Linked DNA regions of Homo sapiens: all the other regions are linked to region 1. The links are contacts of gene promoters, found by promoter capture Hi-C in blood cells and fetal thymus (Javierre and others, 2016). All regions are on one chromosome and are shown on one strand. Each heading gives the region's core, a stretch centred on a gene start or on the middle of the fragment in contact. The rest is flanking DNA. Distances are from core to core; before and after follow the strand shown. Region 1 holds the start of WRAP73 (WD repeat containing, antisense to TP73). Region 2 overlaps PHF13 (PHD finger protein 13). Region 3 overlaps SDF4 (stromal cell derived factor 4).

Evidence for each region. The method cuts DNA at HindIII sites, captures the fragments that hold promoters and counts their contacts. A CHiCAGO score of 5 or more calls a contact.
Region 2: a fragment that was not itself captured here is called in contact with the fragment with the promoter of WRAP73 in region 1 in 1 of 17 cell types (neutrophils); the score reaches 6.0 in neutrophils.
Region 3: a contact is called between a fragment that was not itself captured here and the fragment with the promoter of WRAP73 in region 1, in 1 of 17 cell types (neutrophils). The highest score is 7.1, in neutrophils.

The regions. Positions count from the first base shown.
Region 1 is chr1:3,647,395-3,651,963 of GRCh38, forward strand. It overlaps WRAP73 (WD repeat containing, antisense to TP73), which reads right to left and starts at 2,709. Exons shown (of 12, transcript NM_017818.4): 1 at 2,537-2,709; 2 at 14-166. The coding sequence starts at 2,605. RefSeq lists an enhancer at 2,930-3,773. The HindIII fragment of the contact is 11,564 bases long and covers 1,818-4,569 here.
Region 2 is chr1:6,616,729-6,621,297 of GRCh38, forward strand. PHF13 (PHD finger protein 13) reads left to right here. Exons shown (of 4, transcript NM_153812.3): 2 at 29-130; 3 at 3,075-3,609. Among named protein-coding and RNA genes, the nearest start is that of PHF13, 5.3 kb to the left of the region's middle. The HindIII fragment of the contact is 6,226 bases long and covers 1-4,569 here.
Region 3 is chr1:1,215,999-1,220,567 of GRCh38, forward strand. SDF4 (stromal cell derived factor 4) reads right to left here. Exons shown (of 7, transcript NM_016176.6): 5 at 2,771-2,929; 6 at 2,460-2,635; 7 at 933-1,690. The coding sequence ends at 1,514. Among named protein-coding and RNA genes, the nearest start is that of TNFRSF4, 4.1 kb to the left of the region's middle. The HindIII fragment of the contact is 5,266 bases long and covers 1-4,569 here.

The sequences.
Region 1 (4,569 bases), core at 1,459-3,958:
CGGCAGCACACACCTGCACCAGCCCTCGCTTGTACATGGCGCACAGGATGAAGAGCGAGTCTGCCGACCACTCGATGTGCTGGATCTGGTCTAGGCACGTGTACAGCTGAAGGATCTGAAGGGTGTTCACATCCCGGACCACTAACCGGTACTGGACACAGGAAGCCTAAAAAATATGAGAAAGCAAGCACCTGACATTCTCCACTCCAAAAGAGGGGGGCCTTCGGAATGCTACTGCCCTGGCCTTCAGTGACTGTGGCCTTCTCTCCTGCCAGAGGTTTCATGTCTAGATCACCAGTGACATCCCCAGCCCCTAAAGATCAGTTCAGTTCATACAAGGGTAATGTTGAAATATACAAGCCAGGTTTTAATATTGCTATACTCTATTGTAAAGTATAAAAGTATGTTTTAACTCGCTACTTAAAGCTTTAAGACATTTTTAAGTCCCTTCTTATCTGTATGTTAAAAACTAAACTTAAATGGGAAGTAGCATTGGGAGAAAGCTCTTCTGTGAACTAATAACCAAAATCCTCTGCTAGTTTTATAAACACTTTTGGACAATTTCCTCAAATTTATAAAGGGTAAGAATTGAGGCTTCACAGATGACAACGAAAATGGCAAGGAATGCATCAATCTTCTTATGCAGTGCCGAACTCAGAGCCAAAACAACAGAAGATCAAAAGACAGGCTTTCACTTCTGCACACATAAAGATGCTTCGCAAATGCTCATTTATCTCCATTAACCTATTCCTAACACGAAACGGGAAATGTTTAAGTGTTAGTACTATTTTCTTAAAGATAGTTTCTTCTTGTCCATATTTGTTCATTATGTCCCTATCCAAGCAAACAATTTCAAGTAAAAATAACGCCTGAGTACTCACCTGCTGAATGTATATTTTACTACAGTTTCAAGATCAAGAACTGATGTTTAAATATTAACTGCTTCGTTAGTTTTACTTATCAAGGTCAAAGTAGTTTGTGTTTTATGAACCGATATCAAAAAAGAAAGCCACGTTAGTTTTCCGTGGGAGAAAAGAGAGACAGGCGGGTGACGGCAGATTGGAACAAGGAGCTACCACAGCACTTACTTTCTCACACTGTAGCTTTGAAAACTGTGATCAGTTACAGTGAATTCCTTATGAAATGGAATATTTTTACCAACACCTTGAGGAACCACATAAACTCTACTGCAAGATATGAAAACTAGAAACATGGACCTGCTCTCCCCAGTCCTCAGGGCTTTCAAGAAGATGATTCCAGTAACAGATCATTACCAAGTGTTTCAGGGTATTTTGACCAGAGTGTACAAGCTGGAAAAAAACACCCAAGTTAAGCAAGCAGATGTAATCTTTCTCCTTATAATTCACTGAAATTTTCATAAATGGTAAAAACAAAAAACAAACCTCTCATTTAATTGAGGAGGGGGGCACATTGAAAATATACCAAGGCTGAGATGCCATTTAAACTAATGAGGTTTTCTGTTTTGTAGCTGATGCTATTTTATGTGATTTGGAATAAAACCTCCCTGAAGAGGTAAAAAACGTAATTTGAGAGTTAAACTCTCAAAAGCTAGACAGAGCACAGGAATGTCAGGAGTGGCAAAACCTGAAAAAGCATCATGATACATCAGTCAGTTAGTACAGGTGGTGGATAAGGAAAACGAAGCCCACTTTTTACGAGGCATGTTTCTTCTTAGTGGCTTTCCAATGCCAATTGTCCCCCTCTTCTGAGGACATACATACTAGGCATCCGGGTTATCCCTCTCTTCTGAGGATATACACTACTAGGCATCCAGGTACATACACTATATGTTTTGAAGCTTAAAGTTATAGCTCTGTGATTTAAGCACCCTTCTGCCACCCATGGAACGAAGACCTCAAATCCCAGCCATGAGGACAACTACTTCCTTACCTGGGGATAGAATACTAGTATTTAAATCATTTATTCGGCATGTGGTAGAGGAGAAGAGAATTAGAGGAGAAGTAGAGATGACAAAGTAGCCACACCACTTACCAGTTTACAGGCAACAGAATCATCAATTTGCCTTTTGTGACAAAGTAACAACAAAGAGCCGACATCTCCTATACCCTCACCTGTGTGCAGTCGGCACTGCCGATACCCACCTTTCCAAGGGCACCTCCCCAGACCCCCCACCTGTCTACGGTATCTTCCTGGGTCCCGCACCTGCCCGGGCACCTGCCGGGGTCCTGCACCTGTCCGGCCCCCATATCTGCTTGGGGTACCTGCCTGGGCCCCGCACCTGCTTGGGGTACCTGCCTGGGCCCCGCACCTGCTTGGGGCACCTCCCCGGGCCCTCCACCTGTCTAGGGTATCTTCCTGGGTCCCGCACCTGTCTGGGGCACTTGCTCAGACACTGCACCTGCCCCGGGTACCTGCCCGGGCCCCGCACCTGTCCGGGCACCGCACCTGCAGGATCCCCAAGCTGCCTCCACCCACGCGGCCGCCCCCGGCCCTGCCCGCCGGGGACGCTGGCACCGAGGATGTCCTGCCCGTGGCCCAGGTCCCCGCCGCTCACCAGGTACTTGCCGTCCGGGGAGAACTTGCAGAGTAAGCTGGAGAGCTTGAATACCTCGGAGAAGTTCATGGCCGCCGCCTGCCGCGGGCGCCACCCTGCGCCCGAAAACCCGCGGGACCCCTGGGCGCGCAGCAGGCTGCAACAGCCGACGCCGGCCTCCGAGGCCGGAAGTCAGAAGGCGGAAGTGAACTGCAGCCTATCAGCGCCGCCGGCTTCCGCGCGGCATTGTGGGGCTTGTAGTTCTTGTGCCGCAGGGCTTTAAAGGAAACGCCCACGTTTCTTCCGACCAGGGATTTCCGACCCGAGAACCTTACCTCAAAGGCCGGGAGGCCTTTGAGCACCTCCAGCTAGGGCTGCTGATAAAAATGTAGAAAGCACAGTAAAATTTGAATTTCAGATTCACAACAAATCTAGTTATAAGTATGTTCCCAAATATTGCACGGGACATGCTAATACGGAAAAATTACTCGCTAGTCTGAAATTCAAATTTAATTGAGCGACCTGTGTGTCTGCGTGTGTGTACACATGCATATATATATATTTATATTTATATGTAAATGTATGTTTACATGTAAATATATGTTTACCTACAAATATATCTTTAATAAGTAATACGGTGTCTGTCGCACATATATTATATCGTGTATGTAATGTATAAGTATTTATTTCGTTTGCTTGGGGTTTTGTTTGCTTTTGCTGAGTCCGACCCCTCTACCTGCCGCCTGGCCCTTGCCTCACGCTCCAGTGCCACTGAGATCAAGGAGAGAACGAATTTGCCGCTGACTGGGCAGAGCGAGCGCGTGGATCGCGGCCACCGCCCGTTCATCACCCGCGCGCATCTGGGCTGGCACCGGGCGAAGAATCGTGCGGGTCTGGGACCTGGGGGCCCAGAGGGAGCGAGCTCCTGCGCGGGCGCTCGGTCCGCAGGTTTCGCAGGCTCAGGGGCGTGCCTCGTTCTCACCCCCACTCCGGACCCCGGTCCTCTTCCCTAGACAGCGGCCCCCTCCACCCCTGGCTCCCGCAGGCCGCTAGTAGTCCGCGCCAGGCCCCGCCGGCGCCTCTAGGGCCCCCCAGATCGCGCAGACCCTGACATCCCCGCCTGGCCCTGGGTTCTGGGAGCTGAGAGCCGGCCAGGGTCCTGCTCGTACCTCCGGGCGCCCAGCCTCGGGTCTGCTCCCCGCGGACGCCCCAACCTCCCCGGCCGAATGGATGGTGGTGCGCGCGCGTCCTACTCCGGCGGTGCCGGCCTTTTCTGTTGCCAAAACTAGACCCAAACCTCTGCATGGGATTCGTCTTTGGGTCCCCACCCCGTGCGCCCAGCAAACAGTGGGTGAGCCATGAAGATGTGCGAGTCAGCCGGACCCTCCCCGTCAGGCGCGGACCCGCTGCGGCCAGAGAACCCAGTCTGCGCCAGCCCGGCTCGCTCGCGAAGCCACGGGCTTCACTGACGCGACTTTCCAAGACGTGGGGGTCACCATGGGCAGAGGACATCGGTTCGGAGCCAGATCACGGGCCCCATAAGCATCAGACCATAAGCAGCGCCGCCACTGAGAGCCGCTCGGAACTCGCCCAGCATGTCGGGTCCCCTAGCCAGGGCCTGGTGTACGTGGTCGAGGGCCCTGGAAGCCCCGATGGCCTAGGAGGAGCAGGCGGGCGGGGCGGCGGGTGTCGCTGGCCGGTAGAGAGCTTCGGCCTGACCTAGCGCAGGTCTGGTGCGCGCAGAGAACAACTCCAAGCGCACCGACGCCCGCGAGCTCCTTCCAAACACCGAACGGGATCCAGAGCCCGAGCCCACAGGCGGCGGCCGGGGGAGGGAGCAGGGTGCTGGCCGCCGCCCGGGAGTGTTCGCGTCCTGGGTGACCCCTGGAAGGACGTGGGGCCCAAACTCCGGCTGGGGTTGGGAGAGCAGCCCCCAGAGGCTCTCCGCGGGATCCTCTGCCGGGCGGGACCGTGGCTCCACAGGAGAAGTGGGTGGCAAGCCCTGCTTGGCGGAAAGCAGCCGTTCCCCTCCTCCTGGGCCTGGGGCGGCGCCC
Region 2 (4,569 bases), core at 968-3,467, 3.0 Mb after region 1:
CACATTCCCTTTTCTCTCCCCTTAATAGGAATACTCCCCCAGTTGCAAGAGGCGCAGGACCGTGGAAGACTTCAACAAATTCTGCACCTTTGTCTTGGCCTATGCTGGCTACATCCCTTATCCGAAGGAGGTAATCTTCTGAGTTTCTGAGACCTTTCTTGATGAGTAGTCAAACCCAGTGCCTCCACCGCAAGTTCGTGGGCTTCTGACTGGTCAGAGGGTCAGTAGGTTTGGAAGGGGCTGCTTGTGGTGACCCCAGTCACTAGTCTGGCAGAAATCTGTTTCTTGAGAGTTTGAATTAGCTGGGGAAATGGTTCTAAAACTCTGGTAAAAACTCTGGTAGAAAATGCAGGCTTGTCTAGAAAATGATTTAGTAAACTTTCTTTTTTTTTGGAATGGAAACTTGCTCTGTCGCCCAGGCTGGAGTGCAGTGTCGTAAAACTCCACCCCCGGGTTCAAGGGATTCTCCTGCCTCAACCTCCTCAGTAGTTGGGATGACAGGCGTGCGCCACCACGCTAATTCTTTTTTGTATTTTTGGTAGAGACAGGGTTTTACCTTGTTGGCCAGACTGGTCTCGAACTCCTGACCTCAGGTGATTCACCTGCCTCGGCCTCCCAGAGTGCTGGGATTACAGGCGTGAGCTACCGCCCAGCCGATTTAGTAAACTTTCAGTTTATTTACAAATAAAATATGTGATATTTGCTTGCTCTTTTTGTTTGTTTGTTTGAAATGGAGTCTGGCTCTGTCGCCCAGGCTGGAGTGCCGTGGTGCAATTGTGGCTCACTGCAACCTCTGCCTCCTGGGTTCAAGCGATTCTCCTGTCTCAGCCTCATGAGTAGCTGGGCGCGCCACCACACCCAGCTAGTTTTTTGTATTTTTACTAGAGACGGGGTTTCACCGTGTTGTCGAGGCTGGTCTCGAACTCCTGACCTCATGATCCACCCGCCTCGGCCTCCCAAAAGTGCTGGGATTACAAGCGTTGAGCCACTGCACCTGGCTGTCTGCTTGCTTTTAATAAGGGTCTGTAGTTACTGACTGTTGACCATAGCTGGACACTATTCTTGGCCTATGTAATGCTATGAGGTAGGTGCTATTTTTTATCTCCAGTTTATAAGCTGAGGAAACTAAGGCATAGAGAGGGAAAACTTTGTCTTAGGTCACCCACTGATTAGTGGTGGAGCTTGGGGTTCAACCAGATGGCTGGACTCAGTGCACACGCTGCCTCTGTCTCAGCTCCCTGGCTGCCCGAAATGCGTATGATTGTCTTCAGGGACTCATGGCTGCAACTTGATGTAGATGAAGGAGGTTTTTTCACTTGCTGAGAACAGGGCAGGACTGGAGGAGAGCGGCTGTGGTGCTCAGACTTCAGGCCTCTTTCGTATTCGATTAAGCTCAAAATTGAACAATCCAGCTTTTTTTTTTTTGCGACAGGTCTTGCTCTGTTGCCCAGGCTGGAGTGCAGTGGCACAGTCTTGGCTCACTGCAGCCTCTTTCTCCTGTGCTGAAGTGATCCTCCCACCTCAGCCTTCCAAGTAGCTGGGACTACAGGCCCACCACCACACCCACCTAATTTTTGTATTTTTAGTAGATACAAGGTTTCGCCATGTTGCCCAGGTTGGTGTCAAACTCCTGGCCTCAAGTGACCCACCTGCCTTGGCTTCCCAAAGTGCTAGGATTACAGGCGTGAGCCACTGCGTTTGGCCGTAATTTTATTTTTTGTAGAGACAAGGTCTCACTGTGTTGCTGAGGCTGGTCTCGAGGTAGTGATGCTCCTGCCTTGGTCTCCCAGAGTGCTGGGTTTACAGGCACGAGCCACTGTGCCCAGCTGCATTCAGTATATTTCTAGCAGGCAAACTGCCAGCATTGGTTTATTTCCATCTGCTACATAGGTGGCTAATGCCTGCTTTCTTTTCTTTCTTTTTTTCTTTTTTTGAGACGGAGTCTTGCTCTGTGGCTCAGGCTGGAGTGTGGTGGTGCGATCTCAGCTCACTGCAACTTCTGCCTCCTGGGTTCAAGCAATTCTCCCTGCTTCAGCCTCCCAAGTAGCTGGGATTACAGGTGTCAGCCATCATGCACAGCTAATTTTTTTGTATTTTTGGTAGAGAGGGGGTTTCACCATGTTGGCCAGGCTGGTGTCGAACTCCTGAGCTCAGGTGATCTACCCGCCTCAGCCTCCCAAAGTGCTGGGATTACAGGTGTGAGCCCCCGCACCCAGCCTAATGCCTGTTTTCTAGCAAGACAAGGAGGACGTTGCCACTGTTTGCAAATGATATGCTTGTGATCTGAATGAACCATAGAGTTTACTTCACTGCTTTGGGGCAGTAATTACCTACTTGGATTCTGCAATATTTTGGAATGTCTAGTTTTTTAAGAGTGTCAGGAAATTCTCAAAACTAATTTAAATTCACTTAAAACAATATATCTCTTGGGAGGGCAAATGGAAGGAGAGGTTTTACAATCAGGGAACAATGAGCAGATAGGAGTGGGTGTCCACAGCACTCCTTCCCACAGACACCTGTTGCACACTGATGAATTTTCTGTCTCTAAGATGGGGCTGAGGGTTCAGCAGGGAGTTTCTCTCTTCGTGGCATCACATTAAACTCATGGCACTGATGGCACTGGGTTTTTTTTTTTTTGAGACACAGAATCTCCCTCCCGTTACCAAGGCTGGAGTGCAGTGGCTCACTGCAACATTTGCCTCCCGGGTTCAAGCGATTCTCCTGCCTCAGCCTCCCAAGTAGCTGGGACTACAGGCACCACCACCACGCCCAGCTAATTTTTGTATTTTTAGTAGAGATGGGGTTTCACCATGTTGGCCAGGTTGGTCTTGAACTCCTGGTCTCAGGTGATCCGCCTGCCTTGGCGTCCCAGAGTGCTGGGATTACAGGTGTGAGCCACCACGCCCAGCCAGAACTCATGTTACTGTTGCTTCAAGTGTGATGCTGATGGGCAGAGAAGCTCAAAGTTGTGCAGATGTCTCTGGAGGTCTGACATGGCTGGGTGGCTGGGGATGCTCTGCTCTGGGCTGGATCTTGTCACCAGTAACTGGAATCTGCCACCTTTGTCTTTTTAGGAACTCCCTTTAAGGAGCAGCCCCAGCCCTGCTAACAGCACTGCTGGTACCATTGACAGCGACGGCTGGGACGCGGGTTTCTCAGACATCGCGTCCTCAGTGCCCTTGCCAGTCTCTGACCGCTGCTTTAGCCACCTGCAGCCTACTCTCTTGCAGCGAGCCAAGCCCAGTAACTTCCTGCTGGACAGAAAGAAAACGGACAAGCTGAAGAAGAAGAAGAAGAGGAAGCGCAGGGACAGTGATGCGCCTGGGAAAGAGGGGTACAGGGGGGGCTTGCTGAAGCTGGAAGCCGCTGACCCCTACGTGGAGACCCCCACGAGTCCCACCTTGCAGGATATCCCCCAGGCTCCCAGCGACCCCTGCTCGGGCTGGGACTCCGATACTCCCTCGAGTGGATCTTGTGCCACTGTGTCACCTGATCAGGTCAAAGAAATAAAAACTGAAGGCAAACGGACTATCGTCCGGCAGGGAAAGCAGGTGGTGTTCCGAGATGAGGACAGCACTGGCAATGATGAGGACATCATGGTGGACTCAGGTGAGTGGTCCCTGAAGGATGATGACCCTTGTTGGCTTGTGGTTAGAAGAGAGGTTATTTTATTAAGTGGTCATCTCTCTGGGGCACAGGGTCTGGTGCCTTCCGTAGAGTGTGACAGCCCCACTGTCCAAGGAGGAGAAAAGCTGCAGGAATGTGGATATCGAGATGTTTAGGAAGGGGTTGATTGCCACTAGAGACAGCTGAGATTCTAAGACCTTAGAACATAAAAAGGGTATAGTTCTAAGTAAGCATCCAGGTAAGCATCCAGGCCGGGCACGGTGGCTCCACCAGTAATCCCGGCACTTTGGGAGGCCAAGGCAGGTGGATTGCTTGAGCTCAGGAGTTGGAGACCAGCCTGGGCAGCATGGCAAAGCCCTGTCACTGCAAAAATACAAAAAAAGGCTGGGCGCAGTGGCTCATGCCTGTAATCCCAGCACTTTGGGAGGCCGAGGCAGGCAGATCACGAGGTCAGGAGTTCGAGACCAGCCTGACCAACATGGTGAAACCCCGACTCTACTAAAGATACAAAAAAAAAAAAGAAAAAATTAGCTGGGCGTGGTGGTGCGCGCCTGCAATTCCAGCTACTCAGGAGGCTGAGGTAGGAGAATTACTTAAACCCAGGAGGTGGAGGTTGCAGTGAGCCAAGATCGCGCCATTGCACTCCAGCCTGGGCGACAGCAAAACTCCGTCTCAAGAAAAAAAAAAAAAACAATAGTCGAGTGTGGTGGTGTGTGCCTGTAGTCCCAGCTATTTGGGAGGCTGAGGTGGGAGGATGGCTTGACTGCAGGAGTTTGAGGCTGCAGTGAGGTATGATTGCACCACTGCACTCCAGCCAGGGTGACAGAGTGAGACCCTGTCTTAGGGAAAAAAAAAAAAAAGTAAGCATCTCCTGGGTAATACCTGGTTCCCACACATTTTGGAGCCCCTCGTGCCTTTTCAGAGAGAAGTGTCAGCTTCGAG
Region 3 (4,569 bases), core at 975-3,474, 2.4 Mb before region 1:
GGCGGCACAGGGCAGCCCATGAGTGGCCACTGCTCCTCCAGTACCAGACTGGAGCTGGCTGGGGCCTCTGAAGGGCCAGGTGCCACCACATACCCAGCTGTCCCCCCGCCTTCATGTCCAGCACAGCATGGCCTCAGCTCACACCTCCCACCTCTGGGTGCACGGCCCTCAGCACAGGGCGTCGAATGCTGCTGCAGCTATGATGGTCCCTGGCTGTGGCCTGGGGCCACGGATGGGGAAAGACAGAGTCCAGGCCACCGAAGGTTGGCTCCAGGGAATTACAGCCCCTTAGAGCAGGGCGTGGGACCATCCTCCCACCACCTGCGCTGGCCGTGGCTCTGTGAATCTCGTTTGCCTGGGAACCAGCCCAGGTGCCAACCCGCCCTCTCGGCCCCACAGGGGCCCCTGGGCAGGTGGGCTCAGGGCAGAGGCCGGTCACATGGGCACCACAGGGCAGACTGAAGAGGACACACTCCCGGCTTCCCTGAGCTCCCACTGGGAGAGCCAGGACACAGCCTGGGCCCCCACACGCCACAGAGCAGGACCCCCACCAGCCGTCCTAACACACCCCATTCTCTGCCCCATCTGGGGCTAGGCCTGCCCCACTGCACCCAAAGACCTTGCCATCCTCCACCCAAAACCCCCAGGCGGCTCTGTCTCCTGCCTTAAATGTCCAAACCCCAAACTCAGTGGGCACGTCTGCTGCCCCCTGACCCCTACTCACAAACGCAGCGCTGCCCTCCGTCCTCCCAGAGCCCCTGCCCGTTGCCACCTGCCAGGAGAATCACCTCGAACCGGCCATGACCTCCAACCCTCCACGTGACCCAGCACCAGCCTCCAGCGCTCCAGTGGAAACTGTAACCACAAACCTAGCACGCTGCTGTTGTGTTTTGTTTCACGCCCAAAGAATGAAGCTGACCAAAAAAGGCAACTATATTTAAAGTAAATGTATGTGATTCTTGTCACAACAAATATTTGCATTTTCTCAGCGGCAGCTGCGGGACCTGGGTGGCTCCGACACGCCAGGCCCGGGAAGGACCCGGCACCCTCCCCTGAACTTCCTGGCTACTCATTTCCAGCGAAGTTTAATCTATTTTTAATAATCGTTCAGTTTTCAAGGAAATGGAGGAGCTGTTTTTTCCCACGGAGCGGCGGCCCTGGGAGGGGCCGGGCCCAGAGGTTCCGGCCGCGATGCCGTCAGCGCCTTCGGCAGAGTGACTGAAGCGAGATTTCGTTCTCAGAAGTGAGATGCCACGATTTCGAGGGACCAGGGAGGAGGCGGCGCCGCGGGGCCACAGCCCAGCCCCGCGCCCCGACCGCGTCACAGCCAAAGCCCCGCCGGGGTGCGCGCTGCAGAGGGGACACGCCGCTCATCAACTGGGGCAGCCGCGGTCGGTCGGCCGGTGGCGGGCGGCAGGGAAGAGGTGGGGTCCGGGACAGCCACGGAGCCCGGAGTCACCCGCGAGGCCGCCCCGGTGGTGCGTGGGGGGCGGCGCGGGGCGCGGCCGGGCGCTCAAAACTCCTCGTGCACGCTGCGCGCGTAGTCCACCAGCTTGCTGCCCGTGAAGAACTCGCTGTACTTGAGCACCTCCTCGGGCTCCAGGTGGTGGTTCTGGTTCTCGTCGGCGACGGCGATCATCTGCTTGGCCTCGTTCAGCGCGTTGTACTCGTTCATGGGGTCCATGTAGCTCTGCGGGCGAGCGGGGCACAGGTCAGCGTCGCCTTTCCCCCTCCGAGCTCCGCGGCCAGCCGCACGAAGTGGCTATTTAAGGTGCCTATTGGCTGCAGCGGGAGTGTGGGCACGTTCTGGAAGGTTCCCGAAGGGAGGCGGCACAAATGAAAACACAGGGCAGGGAGAAGCCGGGGGCCCCGGAAGGCCTGCCCGGGGCCAGCAGGGGTAACGGGGCACAGGGGCTACACAGGCCTGGACCCCAGTTCTGAAGGATCCCTAACCTGGGCCGGGCCCACTGGCTGTCGCCAGGAATCACAGGATTCTACATAAAAACAAGATGACTCACTCAGCAGTGGGAGAAAAACAAGCCTACACATGATACCAGTGAAAACGCTTCAGAGGAAGGTGGTAAATTCCAGCCATGTGGCACAGGCCGCCCCGCCCACCTGCACCTGCTGGGCCTTGGACCTGCCTCCATGCTGGGCCCAGCATGAGCTTCCCCTTGTGGTCCCGTTAAAAAGGGGCTGTGAGAACCCTGACGCCTCCGCAAGGGGCTGAGGATGGAGCCCGGCCAGGCTCGCCTGTCTCTGATCCGTCTGAACCTAAACGCCAACAACGGCCATGCAGCCTGGTGGACACCGCTGAGCAAACGCCCCAGTGACCAGCCCAGATGGAGTCTCAGGCCAGACACCAGCACAGCTTCCTGCCTCAGGCCCAGATCCACCAGCCCCTCCCGCCACAGCACCTCGCAGGGCCGGCTCCGGGACACGGCTGCGCCAGGGCTCACCTCCAGCTCCTCGGCGGTCACGATGCCGTCGTGGTTGGAGTCAATGAGCTCCTCAAACTCCTTTTTTCTGTCTTTCACCCAGTTGTCGTCAATGTCCTGGCCCTGCTGGTTCTCCACGGTGCCCACGGGCAGGGAGATGAACTCGGGCACAGAGAGCTGCTTGTCACCGTCCTGGTCTGCGAGACGGGAATGGGTCAGCCCACACCCAGGCTGGGGCTCCCGCAGGACCTGCCCCGACCTCCCGACGATGCCCGGCCCCTGCCAGTCGGTCCTGGGTCCTGGCGTGCCGGCCAGGCTGGACCCAGCCTCACCCAGGTCCCGGACGATCTCCTTCACCATGAACCTGAGCATTCCCCGGCTGTGCTCGGGGTGGAGGAACGACAGGAACTCCTCCTCCGTCAGCAGCAGGTCTGCAGGGGGGCTGTCCGCCTGGTACCAGCGGTCCTTCAGGTTCTCCAGGACTTCCTGTGCTGAGAGGGGCGCAGCCTGTGGGTATCGAGGCCGACAGACGCCAGCACGCAAATCCAGAAAGTTCCGAGAGGTGCTGCCTGAACTCGAGGGACACAGCCACCCGCGAGACCGGGGCCCCACCCTCCAGGATTCACACGTCCCCAGAACATGGCCCAGCCCCTAAGACACAGCCTGGACCCCCGCCAAGACATAACCCAGAGCCTCCCACAGGCCTGATCCCCAAAGGCATAGCTTGGACCCCTCCACACAGCCCGGACTCCCCAAGACAGCCTGGACCCCCCCCTGCCCCAGACCCCCAATACATGGATGGCCCTGACTCCCCACAGACACAGCCCAGACCCCCAGGACATGGCCTGGACCCCCCACACAGCCCAGACCTCTCAAGACATGATCCAGAACCTCCCCATGGCCCAGACCACCCCAGGACACAGCTCAGAGCCCCTCATGCCTGGGACCCCTCAGGATGGGCCTGGGCCCCACCCCCCACACCCGCGCCTGCCCCTCTGGAGGAGCGGAATCACCCTGAAGGCTGACGTGCGCACGGCGCCGCGGGGCGAAGGACTCACTGCCCTTTTCCGTTTCCTTCACGTGTGACGTCACAGGGAGGAAAACACAGTTTCTAGAAATGACTGAGACTGGGGCTGAGCAGAGCTTCCCAGGAACCCTCCCAGCCGGGACACGGCACTGCCTCTGGGTGTGTGGCCCCCGCTCTCCTGCCGTGCCCACCCGGCCCCAACGGGCCCTCACCCCGAGGTCCCCACACATCCCAAGGACCCAAGCCACCCTGGGTCTCCAGGACAGAAACACCACCTCCTGCCCCATCTTGGGGCTCACTGCAGTCAGTGGCCAAGTCCAGTGTTGAGGCCCACACTCAGCCCCCTGCACGTGAGGCCCGACTCTGCCCTGGCCGAAGCCCCTGCCACAAGCCCGGCAGCCTCTGCGTCGCGCTCACTGCGGGATGAGGCCCAGCTGCCGTCCCATCTTATCCCTTTCTGAACAACCTCCATCTACACGACCGGTTCACTTAAAGGAAGACAGGAGTGACGGGGCTGTGGTTCCTGGGGCACCCCTCCCTGTCTGCTCCACCGCAGCTCCTGGGATGGATGGACGGGGCCAAACTGAGACCCATCCAGGAGAGGCACAGACGCCCCAGACAGGCCGGCCGAGAGACGCTTTCTCCAGCACAGGATTCTCACAGCCGCCGCCGAGCCCCAGCACCAACCTCAGGCTGGTGAAGAAGCCTTGAGTCCCAGTCCCTCCCCACGAGCCGGGCCTCTGCTGTTAGGGAAGGATCTGGAGAGACCCTCCTGGATCAGGGAGAGTCAACGACTGCTGTCCCTGTGAGAAGAGGACGCAGACCCAGAGAGAGGCAGCGATGGAGGCGGGGGAAGGGAGTGATGCCCGCCTGCCACGCCTTCACCGCGGTCCCCAGAATCAGGTCTGAGGCGCGAGGACAGCAGCCCCCGGACTCACGCGGTGACCCTCGCAGGAGCCATGCAGGGAGGGGTGGGAGGTCGCAGGAGTGACGCCTGCCAGCGCTTCCCAGGCCCCTCCTCCAGGACCCGGCAGCTGCTCTTCCTGAGCCAGAAACCAAATACCCAAAGAGGTCGGGGGGTCCTAGGCACCCTGAGGTCGGGGA